3 separate regions of the Homo sapiens genome follow, and regions 2 and 3 are each linked to region 1. The links are contacts of gene promoters, found by promoter capture Hi-C in blood cells and fetal thymus (Javierre and others, 2016). All regions are on one chromosome and are shown on one strand. The core of a region is centred on a gene start or on the middle of the fragment in contact, and the rest is flanking DNA. Distances in the headings are between cores, read along the strand shown.

What was found. Contacts are between HindIII fragments. The CHiCAGO score rates a contact against its expected background, and 5 or more counts as called.
Region 2: a contact is called between the fragment with the promoter of ST20-MTHFS here and the fragment with the promoter of MESD in region 1, in 1 of 17 cell types (non-activated CD4 T cells). The highest score is 7.1, in non-activated CD4 T cells.
Region 3: a contact is called between a fragment that was not itself captured here and the fragment with the promoter of MESD in region 1, in 1 of 17 cell types (fetal thymus). The highest score is 7.7, in fetal thymus.

What each region holds. Positions count from the first base shown.
Region 1 is chr15:80,987,726-80,991,846 of GRCh38, reverse strand. MESD (mesoderm development LRP chaperone) reads left to right here and starts at 2,028. Exons shown (of 3, transcript NM_015154.3): 1 at 2,028-2,268. The coding sequence starts at 2,056. RefSeq lists a silencer at 1,755-2,034 and enhancers at 1,785-2,079, 1,719-2,332, 2,065-2,344, 2,333-2,947. The HindIII fragment of the contact is 12,917 bases long and covers 1,398-4,121 here.
Region 2 is chr15:79,920,396-79,924,516 of GRCh38, reverse strand. It overlaps ST20-MTHFS (ST20-MTHFS readthrough), which reads left to right and starts at 1,425. Exons shown (of 4, transcript NM_001199760.2): 1 at 1,425-1,478. It overlaps ST20 (suppressor of tumorigenicity 20), which reads left to right and starts at 765. Exons shown (of 3, transcript NR_037653.2): 1 at 765-1,065. It overlaps ST20-AS1 (ST20 antisense RNA 1), which reads right to left and starts at 1,746. Exons shown (of 1, transcript NR_028330.1): 1 at 1-1,746. RefSeq lists enhancers at 1-186, 388-437, 868-1,047 and silencers at 578-727, 1,348-1,397, 1,408-1,477, 1,498-1,607. The HindIII fragment of the contact is 4,343 bases long and covers 1-1,909 here.
Region 3 is chr15:82,046,297-82,050,417 of GRCh38, reverse strand. No RefSeq gene overlaps it. Among named protein-coding and RNA genes, the nearest start is that of MEX3B, 2.3 kb to the right of the region's middle. RefSeq lists a silencer at 3,151-3,470 and an enhancer at 3,151-4,097. The HindIII fragment of the contact is 2,871 bases long and covers 954-3,824 here.

The sequences.
Region 1 (4,121 bases), core at 779-3,278:
AATTTCTGTAAAACTTTCAATGATCTTATTCTCTATAACTAGATATGTGGGCCAAGAATCCCAACACGTTTGCCCCTTAACTTTGAAGCTGGCAATATGAATTACCAGGGTGACCCCTCCCAGTAGAGCACATGATCAGCCACAGCTGTGCATGTTTTTTAGTATGACTGCACTAGGATAGGGCTCCAAGCCACTGGGTGGAGCAATGTGCTCTGGGGAGAAAGCTCATGACATTTCCCCTATGATTTCACAAAAGAAAAAATCTTTTTCTTATGAGTTGTTTCTGCTCAACGTCAATAGGAAAGGTCATAGCTTAGCGTGTTTACATACAGATGCATGCATGAATATGTAGAATATCAGCCACTCCTACGGTGTGAGAGAATTTAAATTGCACTGGTCCTAAGAGTGAAGGAAAGCAGGCGTAGTTGCCTACTCAACCTCCACTTTATTCTTTTCCCTTTATAACAATCCTAATTTCATTTGAGATGACAATGTATACAGCTAGAAGACAATTTCTCAGCCTCCCTTGGAGAGCTAGGTTCCAGCCAATGAGATGTAAACAGAAATGTATGCAATGTTCAAGTAGGCTGCTTAAAAGAAGTTGACTCCACTTGAAAGGTGTGCTTGGTTTGGCCTGCCTTCTCCCTTCCTCTGGTTGAATGTCATCTTGATGACTGGAGCTCCAGGAGCCATCCTGGAATTTCTGACCTTGAGGGTGGAAGCCACAGGCTAATATGATAGAAGGATGAGGAAGAGGCTGAGTACCAGATGGCTGAGAAGCCACTATACCAGCCCTAGTTTCGAGTTTACACTGCTTCTGTGAAAGAAAAGTCAATCACAATAAAACCTTTTATCTTGTTTAAACCACCTTAAAAAGTCAGTTTTCTTTTATATGCAGCCTACTAATCCTATCCAAACAAGGCTTGAATAAGGTTTACTACAGCTCTTTTTTGTTGTAATAGCAGAAAAATTGGTAATAAATGCCCATCAATAGGAAAATAAACTATTAATTTAACAATACCAAATAAAACTGTGCAGCAGTATAAAGAATGAAGCGTTTTTTGTTGTTGTTTTTGAGATGCGGGTCTTGCTTTATTGCCCAGTCTGGTCTCAAACTCCTAAACTCAAATTATCGTCCTACCTCAGCCTCCCAAAGTGCTGGGATTATAAAGGCTTAAGCCACCGTGCGGCCTTTGGTTTTTTTTGTTTTTTGTTTTTTAAGGTCTTATGTAATTAAACATTTTAAAGACATCAGCTGATGAGCCGTTTAAAACAAGAAGAATCTCAAAGCATCTTTGGCCAAAATCTTTTTAAGAAACAAAAAGTAGCGTGATTCAGCCTTGAAAAGGATTAGTTAGAGCCTACAGTATTAGGTTGAAATCAAAGAAAGGCAAGCTTTTTTTTTTTTGGATGAATAGTAATGATCTTTTTGGAAAAAAAAAACAAATATTGAAAGCTGGTTGAACTGAATCCTCTTTATTGATGAGGAAAGCAGTGGACTCGAACTATTTATGACTTTCTGAAAAAAGTTGCCCTACCTGCCACTCACTTCTTTTTAACTGGCTGTTCTCAAAGGAAATTGCAAGAGACTGAGGATAAACGTCCGACATCCAGAAATGGGCTTTTTTAGAGCCGAGGCAGCCTCCAGAACTTCCAGTTCCAATTTATTTCACAGGCGAGAAACTGAGGTCAACAGGGACGTTGGTTAGTGGTTCCTGGAGGCCCTGAAGGAACTTTTGGACCTGGCTTGTGCGTTCCAGAGAAAAAGGTCGGCCTCTGACGGAAAACGAAAAATGAGCACTCAGGGACCCACCCAGCCGGGACAGAGCGCCTCAGCCGGACCAAGAGGAGGAGCCAGTGGGGCGGGGCCAAAATGGCGGAGGGGCGGGGCTTCCAGAGGCGGGGGTTAGGAAATGGTACGGGGCGGGGCCCGGTAGGCTAGCGAGGGCCGGGAGGCGGGGCCTCGGAAAGGCGGACAGGAAGGCGTGTGCAAGGCGGGGTCCGGCCCGCGCAGGTCGGGTAAGCGCGTCTAGGGCGCTGCGCGGCGCAGCGAAAATGGCGGCTTCCAGGTGGGCGCGCAAGGCCGTGGTCCTGCTTTGTGCCTCTGACCTGCTGCTGCTGCTGCTACTGCTACCACCGCCTGGGTCCTGCGCGGCCGAAGGCTCGCCCGGGACGCCCGACGAGTCTACCCCACCTCCCCGGAAGAAGAAGAAGGATATTCGCGATTACAATGATGCAGACATGGCGCGTCTTCTGGAGCAATGGGAGGTCCGCGGCGCGCGCACACCCTCCCGGCTCTTCTCTGTGCGGGACCCTGTTCCCTATGACCCCTTACCTGTTCTGTCTTGGGACCTTTCTGACCCCCTAACCTCCTCTACTCATGCCTTGAATCCTTACTGACCCACTGAAGCCACTGTTGACCCTCCATTCCTCCTCTGACCCGCGCGCCCTGCTGACCCTCGCTCCAGCCCTCTGTCATTCCAGTGCCCTGTTCCTCCTGCCATTTCTCAAACCACTTCAATCACGGATCTGCCCCTCACTGTTCAGCTTTGCTCTCCCTTCACCCTTCAGTGCCCTGGTTGTCTTTGCGTTGATTCTTGTGGTCAGTGAGCCCTGCAAACAGGGAGAGTGACCTTTCCCAATCTACTAAAGAGCATTTCCTTCTGTTTTGCGGTGAGTGGGTGGGAGAGTGGGTTGCAGTGAAGATGGTCTTCCTTAATGGTTATCTCAGCTGTCTTCTAAATCAGTATAATTTTAGACTTCCTATTTTGGTATATGTCCCTGCTGGGAATTTTGTGCTTTTTGTGGGTGGATTTATTTTACTGAGGGGAGAAGTATCAATGGCTAATGGCTCTGTATCGTGAAACTCACGCTTTTTGTTCAAAGGAGAGTAAGTTTTCTGGTTTGTCACTTGGACGCACCGGAGTGTGCAGTTACAGGGAGTGTGTAATACGCTTTAAGGTAAAGATTACTGGCCAAAACCACATTGCTGCCTTTTCCCCTTCCTAAGGTGATTGTATCGTCCTGGTTGACTTGCATAGCTGTGGAACCTTGGGCAGGTTATGTCTAGTTTCTAGGCCTCGGTTTCTTTATCTGCAACATGAGGAGGTTAGGATGGGTCCTAAGATTCCTTCCAACACTGATGTTTTGTTATTTTGTGATTATCTCTGTGTGTGTTACGGGAGAAGGGAAAGACTTTCAGACAAGAGTTTAAAATACCACCTGATGCATCTGACTAGAAGAATGCAGGCTTGTGTTTTCATGTGGTCATCAACAGCTGATGGAAAGATTGGGATAGATTTGAGTGTAGAGAGAACGTCCCCATTCACCGTCTCCCTTGCAATCTCCTTGTCTCTTTTTGGACTCCAGCAAATAAAGCCTTTTGATCTGCCAGAGTGAGAACATCACCTCATGAGAAATCCTCCCCTTGACCTACTCAGACCCTGAGCTAGACGAAGAGGGTGCTGAAGAGATGAACAAAGATTGCACTGGGAACAGTAGATAACAGGATGGATGAGTGGGGAGAGACTTTGAAGGCCAAGAAAAACACATTATCTCATTTAATCCTTTTACCCCATCCATGAGGGAGGTACTTATCCCTATTTTCTAGATGATGACATTGAGACACAAAGAGGTTAAATAACTTGCTCCACATCGCACAGCAAGCTAGCTGAGTTTCAAATTCTTTCGCGACTTTTAGAGCCAGTTCTTTGAACTGTTTTACCTGTACTGCCACACATGTTGGTGACAGAAGTGCAAATGAAGGATAGTGAGGAAGACGTGGATTAAGCTAGAAACTGCAGGAGCAGAGTAGAAGGGAGAAATGTGAGATTTTTATACTTTTAACAGGACTTGATGGTTGATTTTGTTTTTTAAATTATTTTTTATAGAGACAGGGTCTCCTTATGTTGGCTGGGCTGGTTTTGAACTCTTGGCCTTTGCAGTCCTCCCACCTTGGCTTCCCAAAGTGTTGGGATTACGGGCGTGAGCCACCATGCCTGGGCAATTGATTGATTTTGTGAATAGCAGGGCCACATAATGTAGTAAAAAGACAGGTTGGCTGGGCGCAGTGGCTCACGCCTGTAATCCCAACACTTTGGGAGGCAAAGGCGGGTGCATCA
Region 2 (4,121 bases), core at 176-2,675, 1.1 Mb after region 1:
CTACTAAAATACAAAAATCAGCGAGGCGTGGTGGCGCCCGCCTGTAATCCCAGTTACTCGGGAGGCTGAGGCAGGAGAATCGCTTTAAACCGGGAGGCGGAGGTTGCAGAGCCAAGATCGGGCCATTGCACTCCAGCCTCGGTGACAAAATATAATAATAATAAAATTAAAAAGGGCTTAGCATAGTATCTGGCCAGTAAGAAGAAATTATGATTATTATTTTGACCTTAGACCTCTCTTAACTGTCTGAAATTCGGGTTTCTTAAAGGACACAGGCGGTCTCTGAGGCTCCCGCCAGCGGAAACAATCTCCCATTAAAATAGGCATCGGTTAAATATTTGCTGAACAAAGTAAACTACGTCTCCCCGAATCCCATTGAGCGCCTACTCGAGATCCGGACCGGAGCCGGGCAGGACGGGCCCGTCGGTCCCACACGCCGTATAAGTGGGTGGAGAATACCCCACACGCCCAGACCAATAGGCGGGGTGAACGAGGACCGTGTTCACCAACTCAGCCCGGCTCGCGGAATGCCTTCTGTTCGCCTCCGGGCTTGCAGTGGCTTTCCGTCGCAGGTCAGGCCGCGTTCCACTTCCGCCGGCAGTCCAGACACGCCCCTCCGGGTCCAATCCCCGCCCCTCACACACCTGGCCCCGCCCCGTCGGGAGCTCGGCGGTCCTCTCTGCGCTAGGTCTTCTTAGCGCCCGACGGGGCCACGCCCATCCCCGACGCTCTGAGGTCACCTACAGGGCCGACCCTCGGTGGGCGGAGGGACGGAGGGAAGATGGCTGCAGAGACCGGATATTGGCGCTGCCTCCCCGAATCCCGGACCTGCGCTGAGGAGGCGGTTCATCTGTGGCCAGCGGTGCTTCGGGACCCGCGCTGGGGGAACCCTGGCGACGGGGCCTGGCCCTGCTATATGCGGGGGCCTCGGCTGGAGTGAGCGGCGTGGACGCCTCTTTCCTCCGGCTCTTCCCTTGTTGCTGCGAGAGCGAGAGGGCCGCGGGCGGCGGAGGCAGCGGGGCCGGGATGGAGGACGTTAACTCTAACGTGAACGCGGACCAGGAGGTGCGGAAGCTGCAGGTGCCGGTGAAGAAGCTGGGGAAGCAGCACGAACAGCCGAGGAGCCGCTCGCGCTGTGCTGGGCCCCGGCTCCATCGCGGTTCGCCGGCTCCTCCACTCCCTCCTACGGCGCGGGGTCCCCTCGGGGCTTCCCCTTGGGTCTCAGCGCAAAGTCGGGCGGCGGGGCCGGATGGACCCGAGGCGGACGAATAACGAGGAGCTGCGAGACGCCACCTTCTTGCTGGCGGCGGGGGAGGGCGGCTTGCTAGACGACCTGGAGCGTCTGTCAGGCTAGGAGGAGGGGGAGGAGAGCTGGTGAGCGCCGGGCGCCGGGCGGGGCTGGGCGGGGACGCCCCGGTGGCGGAGGACGTCCCGGAGGATCCCTCTGGTCGGGCGCCTGGCTTTGTGTAGCCAGCCAGGTCCGCTCTCGGCGGGTACTCGTGGTCTTGCTCTGGCAGAGGGGAGGTCAGTTGGAGTTGGGGGTTCGAGGCTTGCAAGTACAGGGCTTGTAGCTCCTTCTCTGGATTGTGGACCCTCTGGGTGCTGGGCCCTATTGGGGTTGGTGGGTTGGTTGGATCCAGAAGGGCTGTTCGCCGTGGGGAGGAGTCGGAGGTGGGAAACTGCTTTGTAGGCAGGGATTCTGCTTTGTATAGGAGACCAGCTTTCGGATGCTGGTCTGGGCATTTTGGATGTTGGGGAGGGGTTTGGCTTGATGAGGTATCACCAAGTTCGGGGGGTGCAGACCAAAGTCGCCGACGTCTATGCAGCGGTTGGTGTTTGGGATCAATTTCTAGCGTGGATGGGGAGACCATGTGGATCAGCACTCCCCTTTAGGTAGTGGGGTAAAGCTTGCTCTGTGTGAAGAGGTCAGAGGATGGTGGTGTTTTGTGTGAAGAATCAAGGGTGAAACAAGAGCCCTGGCTCTGATATTTTAAAACAAGAATTGAGTCTGGCATTTTGCAGAGCTCTGAATTGACATTTATCACATCTATCCTTCATTTCCATGTCCTCCTATGGGCAGAAAAGAGTCCTATTTTAATACCTAAACCAAAGCTGTATTGTCATAAGCCACTTCTTGATGAAATTGTGACACACACCTTAATATCACTTTCATAAATAGGAAATGGGAGGCTTTTCTCCTCATTTTATTATAAAGATGTCTGTGGGAAATTCTCTTAATTCATCCTCTTTAAAATTTTACCTTTTAGCTAAAATGTCTCTGTTGAAATTCAAATTTCTAACTTAGTGAAATCGAAATCATTCATAGACTGTAGTATTGCAGGGCTCGAACTGTGCAGTGTTCTGAGGTAGTTAAGAGCTTTGCTGGATTCAGGCCCTGGGTTTGCCCAGGCCTGTATGACCTTGAGCAAGTTATTCTGAGCTTCACTTTCTTCCTCTATGATGGAGAAAATAATGATAGCACTTACCTCTATAGAGTTATGAAAATTTAGTAAGATAATCCATGTATGCATTTAGCACTGTTGAGATCTTGGCTTACTGCAAGCTCCGCCTCCTGGGTTCACACCGTTCTCCTGCCTCAGCCTCCCGAGTAGTTGGGACTACAGGCACTGGCCACCACTCCCTGCTAATTTTTTGTTTTCGTATTTTTAGAAGAGACGGGTTTCACCGTGTTAGCCAGGATGGCCTCGATCTGACCTCGTGATCCTCCCGCCTCGGCCTTCCAAAGAGCTGGGATTACAGGCATGAGCCACCATGCCCAGCCTATTACTCTTAAGCCTAGTTATTTAAATCAAACATTTAGTGAGCTCTTACATGATGTTATAGGAGACTCTGAAGATTCTCAACTGTTGATTCCTGTTCATAAGGCAGTTATAGTCTTGTTGAGAACTAAGTTTTATGCAGATAAATAAACTAGAAAGTGTATGGTGAATTGCCGAAAGAGAGAACAAAAGTACTGTCAGTGCGCAGTAACTGGGAAGAAAACAGTAGTCCAAAGTAGAGGGGCCAAACTTTGAGGAGGAGGCTTTGGAGTCTGGAAGTGAGGAAAGAGTGGGAAGGGCATTTTATGCTCTGACAGCTACAAGAGCAGAGTCAGAGATATTTGTAACTCCCAGTTAGGAGATTTGAATAACAGAAGTACTCTTGAGTATATGGTGACAAACCTTTATTTTTTATTTACTATTTTTTTTTTTTTTTGAGACGGAGTCTCGCTCTGTTGCCCTGGCTGGAGTGCAGTGGCATGATCTCAGCTCACTGCAACCTCCGCCTCCCAGGTTCAAGCAATTCTTCTGCCCCAGCCTCCCAAGTAGCTGGGACTGCAGGTGCCCACCCCCATGCCCAGCTAATTTTTGTGTTTTTAGTAGAGATGGAGTTTCACCATACTGGCCAGGCTGGTCTCGAACTCCAGACCTCGTGATCTGCCCGCCTTGGCCTCCCAAAGTGCTGCGTGAGCCACCGCACCCAGCCGACAAACCTTTATTACCAGGTGATATCAAATATTATTAGAGCTGACTGTGGTAGTGACAGTTTTTCATATAAATGAAATTGCATCCTCCCAAAGGAATCCTGAGTATGTATGCACTTTAAAAGAACCCAGAATCATCTAAATATTGTCACATGGCTCTTGCAAGTGATGATAATAGTGATGCTTATAATAATGAGGATTAGCTGCACTCATCAGCCTGTAGAAAGTAAAAAGTTTCCTTTTCGAAATTTCCTTTCTTGTTAAAGAATAAATCATAAGTGTTAGAAATAATAGTTTCTTTTAAAGACTAACTTCCTTCAAGCCTCCTCTGCTCTGTGCTAATGACTCTTCATTAAGCCCTATCCTATGTAGCTGTTAGATATAAGGGAATAAGTATATTCTATGTCCTTGTACTTTAACCAAGATATTTGTGCTGGACATGCTCACAGGCACGTTCCAGCTTGCAGCCTATGCCCCTTCCTTATTTGGAAATATTATTACTTTTCTAAGTCTTTTTGCAAGCAACTTCTTCTTTTCCTTTGTTCTCTATTGCCTTTCCCTATATAGGAAAGTTTTAAGTTATTAGCCAGTCGGGTTTAATTTAAATTGTGAGGTCCAGCTCCAGCCAATGGAGACA
Region 3 (4,121 bases), core at 1,140-3,639, 1.1 Mb before region 1:
TTTTAGTGATTTCATGTGATCTTGTAAGTATATTGCTAGGACCTCTTCCAGGGCCTTGGAAGGGTCTGTGTTAAGTGAGGAGCCCTGTAGCTTCATTTCATCTGCTTGGAGGCAAATCTGCCTTTATTTGGGTAAGTGACTTATTTTCATCTGTAAAGTGGGGATAATAAAAGTGCTTGCCTCTGAGTAGTTAGAAAGATTAAACAAGATACTGTATTGTAAAGCATTTTGTAAACTTCCTGGCACATTGGCACATAATAAGTGCTTAATAAGGGTCACCTGTGATTACTAATTTTATTCAAAATCATGTCATTGTGGCTGGTGTCATTTGAGCTGCTTCCCAGAGACTGAGCGATTCCTGTACATACCTAAAGTTACACCTTCAAGATGCTGCAGCTTGGCTCACTCACTCATTTAATAAGCATTTAGGAGTTCCTGCTAGATGCTATGCACTGTGCTAGGCTCCAGTCTCAATTCATTCTCACACCACATTCACTGGAAGCACAACTCAGGTATCCCCTCCTCTGGGAAGCCCTTCTAGGACCCTAAGCCGACTCACTACTATCTGGGCACTTATCTCTCTGTGTGACTGGGTTTGGACATCACTAGTATTCAAGGAAAAGACATTATCCTGCCCCTCTGCCACCTTTGTTCATTTCAGTTCAGTATAATCGATACTTCTCTCTGTGCCTATAATACAGTATGGAGGTGCTCAATAATCTTAAATGAGTTGACTGAGCATGTGTTTGTTTTCACAGGAAGATTTCCGTTTCTTTTGCAAGCTATTTAATTTGCAAAAGTAAGCAAGATGTGCACAAAATAGTTTTGAGACATCTGGAAACAAAACAAGGTTGCCTCATCATTAATCTTGTTTTTGTGTGATAACTTTACTTTTTCTCATTTTATGACAACTGAAATTCTCTATTATACTGCCAGACCTCATTCTGCAAGCTTCTCTCCTGTGCTAATAAAAAATATTATGGCCACATCGAGAAGTCCTTAGGGAATGTGTTCTGCATCAGGAAAAGTAATTAAGCTCTGGGGTCCTAAAGGAGCCTGGGAAAGTCTATCCAGAAACTATGGGGTTAGGATGTATTATCTATTGAAAAACAGAACCGGACTTTGCAAGTTTTACAATATCTTGGCTTATTAAAGCCACTAACTGAGAATTAAAATTTCTGGATTGTTACTTTTACAACAGCAGTCAAGTGTCGGAAAATATCCTGACCAGTCAGTAAGGTATACAAATAGAGAAGGCAAGGAGTAGCTGTGAGTAAAGCGCCAACTACATTTGCTGAGTACCTGGGAATTTACGAGTTAGCTTTTGCTATCATTATCCGTCTCGCTAAAGCAACCCTATGAGGTAGGTGGGAAGCTGGATGCCGTCCTCTTTTGACAGCCAACACTGAAGAACAGCTGGGGCTGGAAACTAGATCTGTCAGACATAGTAACTGCTTCTATCACTCTCACCACCCTCCCATGCTCTTGAGAGTGCCTTCGCTTTTGTGGGTGTCTTCAGAAAAGCATGCGGATCTCTGTATAGGTTTTACTCAAGTGTTCCTCTCTGTGGAGGGTGACCTGGGCTACATGAACATGGGCACCTCAGGATCGGCAGCTTTCCATGAATTCCTATGGTAAGGGGTTCAGCTTATCCTTCATGTGGGTGAAGATGTATGATTTCATTGAACATTGGCAGTTACAGCCAAGTACAAGTCCTGCCTTCAGGATCCAGCAGGGAAGAATGACATTAAACATGTCACCTTGGAGAAATGTTGCATTCACCTTCCGGGTAATGACCCAGCCACCCAGGGACTCCTCTGAAATATCCAATCCTCTAAGTTTAAACACGTTTCAGAATTAATCCATCTGAATTCTTATCGCTGTAGATGCAAGGAGAAGGAGTTATGGCAGGTCTGAAACTATTAGCGGCCAAGCTCCCTAGCAGAAGCAACCTCTCCCTACACCCCATTATCCGTGCACAGCTCCTTATCAGCGGAGGAACAACTTTACTGTCACCATATTTTCTACTTGGAAAAAAAAAAGAAACCTCAGCAGGCCCAATCCGAAGGCTATGAAATTTCAAAGAAACAGAGCTAAGAGGCGAGAAACTAGCCCTTTGTGTTAAAAAGATGGAAATGCTCCAAGCGCCTTTCCAGTCTGCTTTCTGTTTACAGGCCTTGCGTGAGCGCGGGAGGCTGGGCCTCATCTCTGGCTCTCCCCAGCCAGGACCCCTTACTCAAAACCCTCCATCTCGGCAAGAACCCTCATTCCCAAGTTAGTTGGATTCCAAGTCCATAAACCGGGTCAAAAGAATACAGTAATTTCCTACTGGAGCTCTAAGTGGTGGTTTTCACGGAGGACTCGGCACCATCCTCCCACCTGCCTCCTCCCATCGAACATTCCTTTTTAAGAAAAACACACACCAGGCTCCGGGAAGCTGACGTAAACATCCTGAGGAAATAACCACTGTAAGTGGCTTCTAAACCCATTTCCCCAAGGAAATAATCAGCACCTCTTTCCCAAGACAGCTCCAGGTAAGCAAGCGGTGAAGGGAGCTGCACCACCGCGTTCTCAAAAGTAAAGGCGCTTGCGGAACTGTCTACTGATTTGTAAGCGCGCGCCCATCCACTGTCGCATTTAATCTTCCGAACGACCCACGAGGTGGTAAAGGCGGGGATTATTTTCTTCATTTTACGGGTGAGAAACCGAGGCCCACAGCGCTCGTTCCTGTAGCCGGGGTCAGGCAGGGCACACCTAGGGGAGCCTCTGCCTTCGAGCCCCGGGACCGCCCCGCGGCACCACGAGATCTCCCCAGTCAGCCCGTGTGCGGCTGCGGCCGCATGGCCTCATTGTTTTGGGAAGACGTCCCTCTGTGAGGATCTTGGGCGACTCTATGAACCGCGGGCCCAGCCGCTCTGCGGAACGATCCGCAGCGGGACGCAAAGGGCGCGGCGAGCCCGGCGGCTCCCGGAACAAAGGACAGCAGAGCGCGCGGGGCCCGAAGGGGCGTCCGCCCTAGTGGGCGGCGGAGGGGGATGCGCGCGGAGAGGACCAGCGCGCACCGCCCCGGCCCGCCCCTCAAATCCTCCTTCCTTCTCTCTCGCACTCGGAGACGGTCCCTGGGAGATCCGGGAGGGGGCGCAGCTCGCCGTCCTCGCCGGCAAGTGCCGTCGCAACCTCCCTCTGCCGCCACCCCCACCCCGAGAAGCGCACAAAGAGCGGCCGGGCAGGGAGCGCTCACCTCCCGTCGGGGCGGGGCCGCGGGCGGGGCCGGCGCGCGCTCCGCAGCGCCCGCCTTAAAGGGCCCGCCCGCTCCTCGCGCGCACTGCGCATGCTCGGCCGCGGGGCACGGAGGGGAGGGATGGGAACAGCGGGCGCGCACGCCCGCGCCGCCCGCTGGCGCTGTGGCCTGCGTCCCCGCGGTGGCGGCGCGGCGCTCGTGCGCGTGTCAGAACCCGCAGGGTCTCGGCCCGGGCGCCGGGCGTGTGCTGGACACTGGTGCCATGCATTCCAGAGGTCGCCAGCGGCCGGGCGGGCCGAGCTCGCGCGGCAGCCAGCTTTTAGCTTTCCCATCCTCAGTTTCAGGGCCAGTTGGGCGAAGTGCTGCCCAAGGAGACAGAAATGCAGGCGCGGGCGCGCGCGCGCGCGGTTGCCAGTGTGGGCGGGCGTGTGCTTTTGTGTCTCGTGCGCTCCCGCGCAGGTGGACAACCCGCGCCGGGAGTCACTCTGCCCGTGCGCCCCAAGACCTGGAGTCCCGTTTTCCGTGTCGGAGGGCTCGGGTCGCCCTTTTGGGCGGACTACAGACTCTTCTCACAGAGGAAGCTTTGGCTCCACGGATGGTTTATTTGGAGCCACTAACGGGACTTCCTGAGGACCGCTCTTTTAGAGCCCGGCTCCAGGCATCAGAGTTGGGCGCGTTTTCTTTTCTCAGTCAGGCGAGGGAGGAGACTTAGGGACAATGATTGTCCTCGGCTGATAGGTACATCCAAGTGTCCCGAGCCTGCCAGTCCCGCATTAGACAACAAAGAGAGGCGTTAGCGGCGGCGGGGGAGGGGCGCGGCCGGGAGGAGGACGGGGCGGGCTGCGGCGAGCGCGGGGGTGGGGGGTGGCGCTCTCTCTCC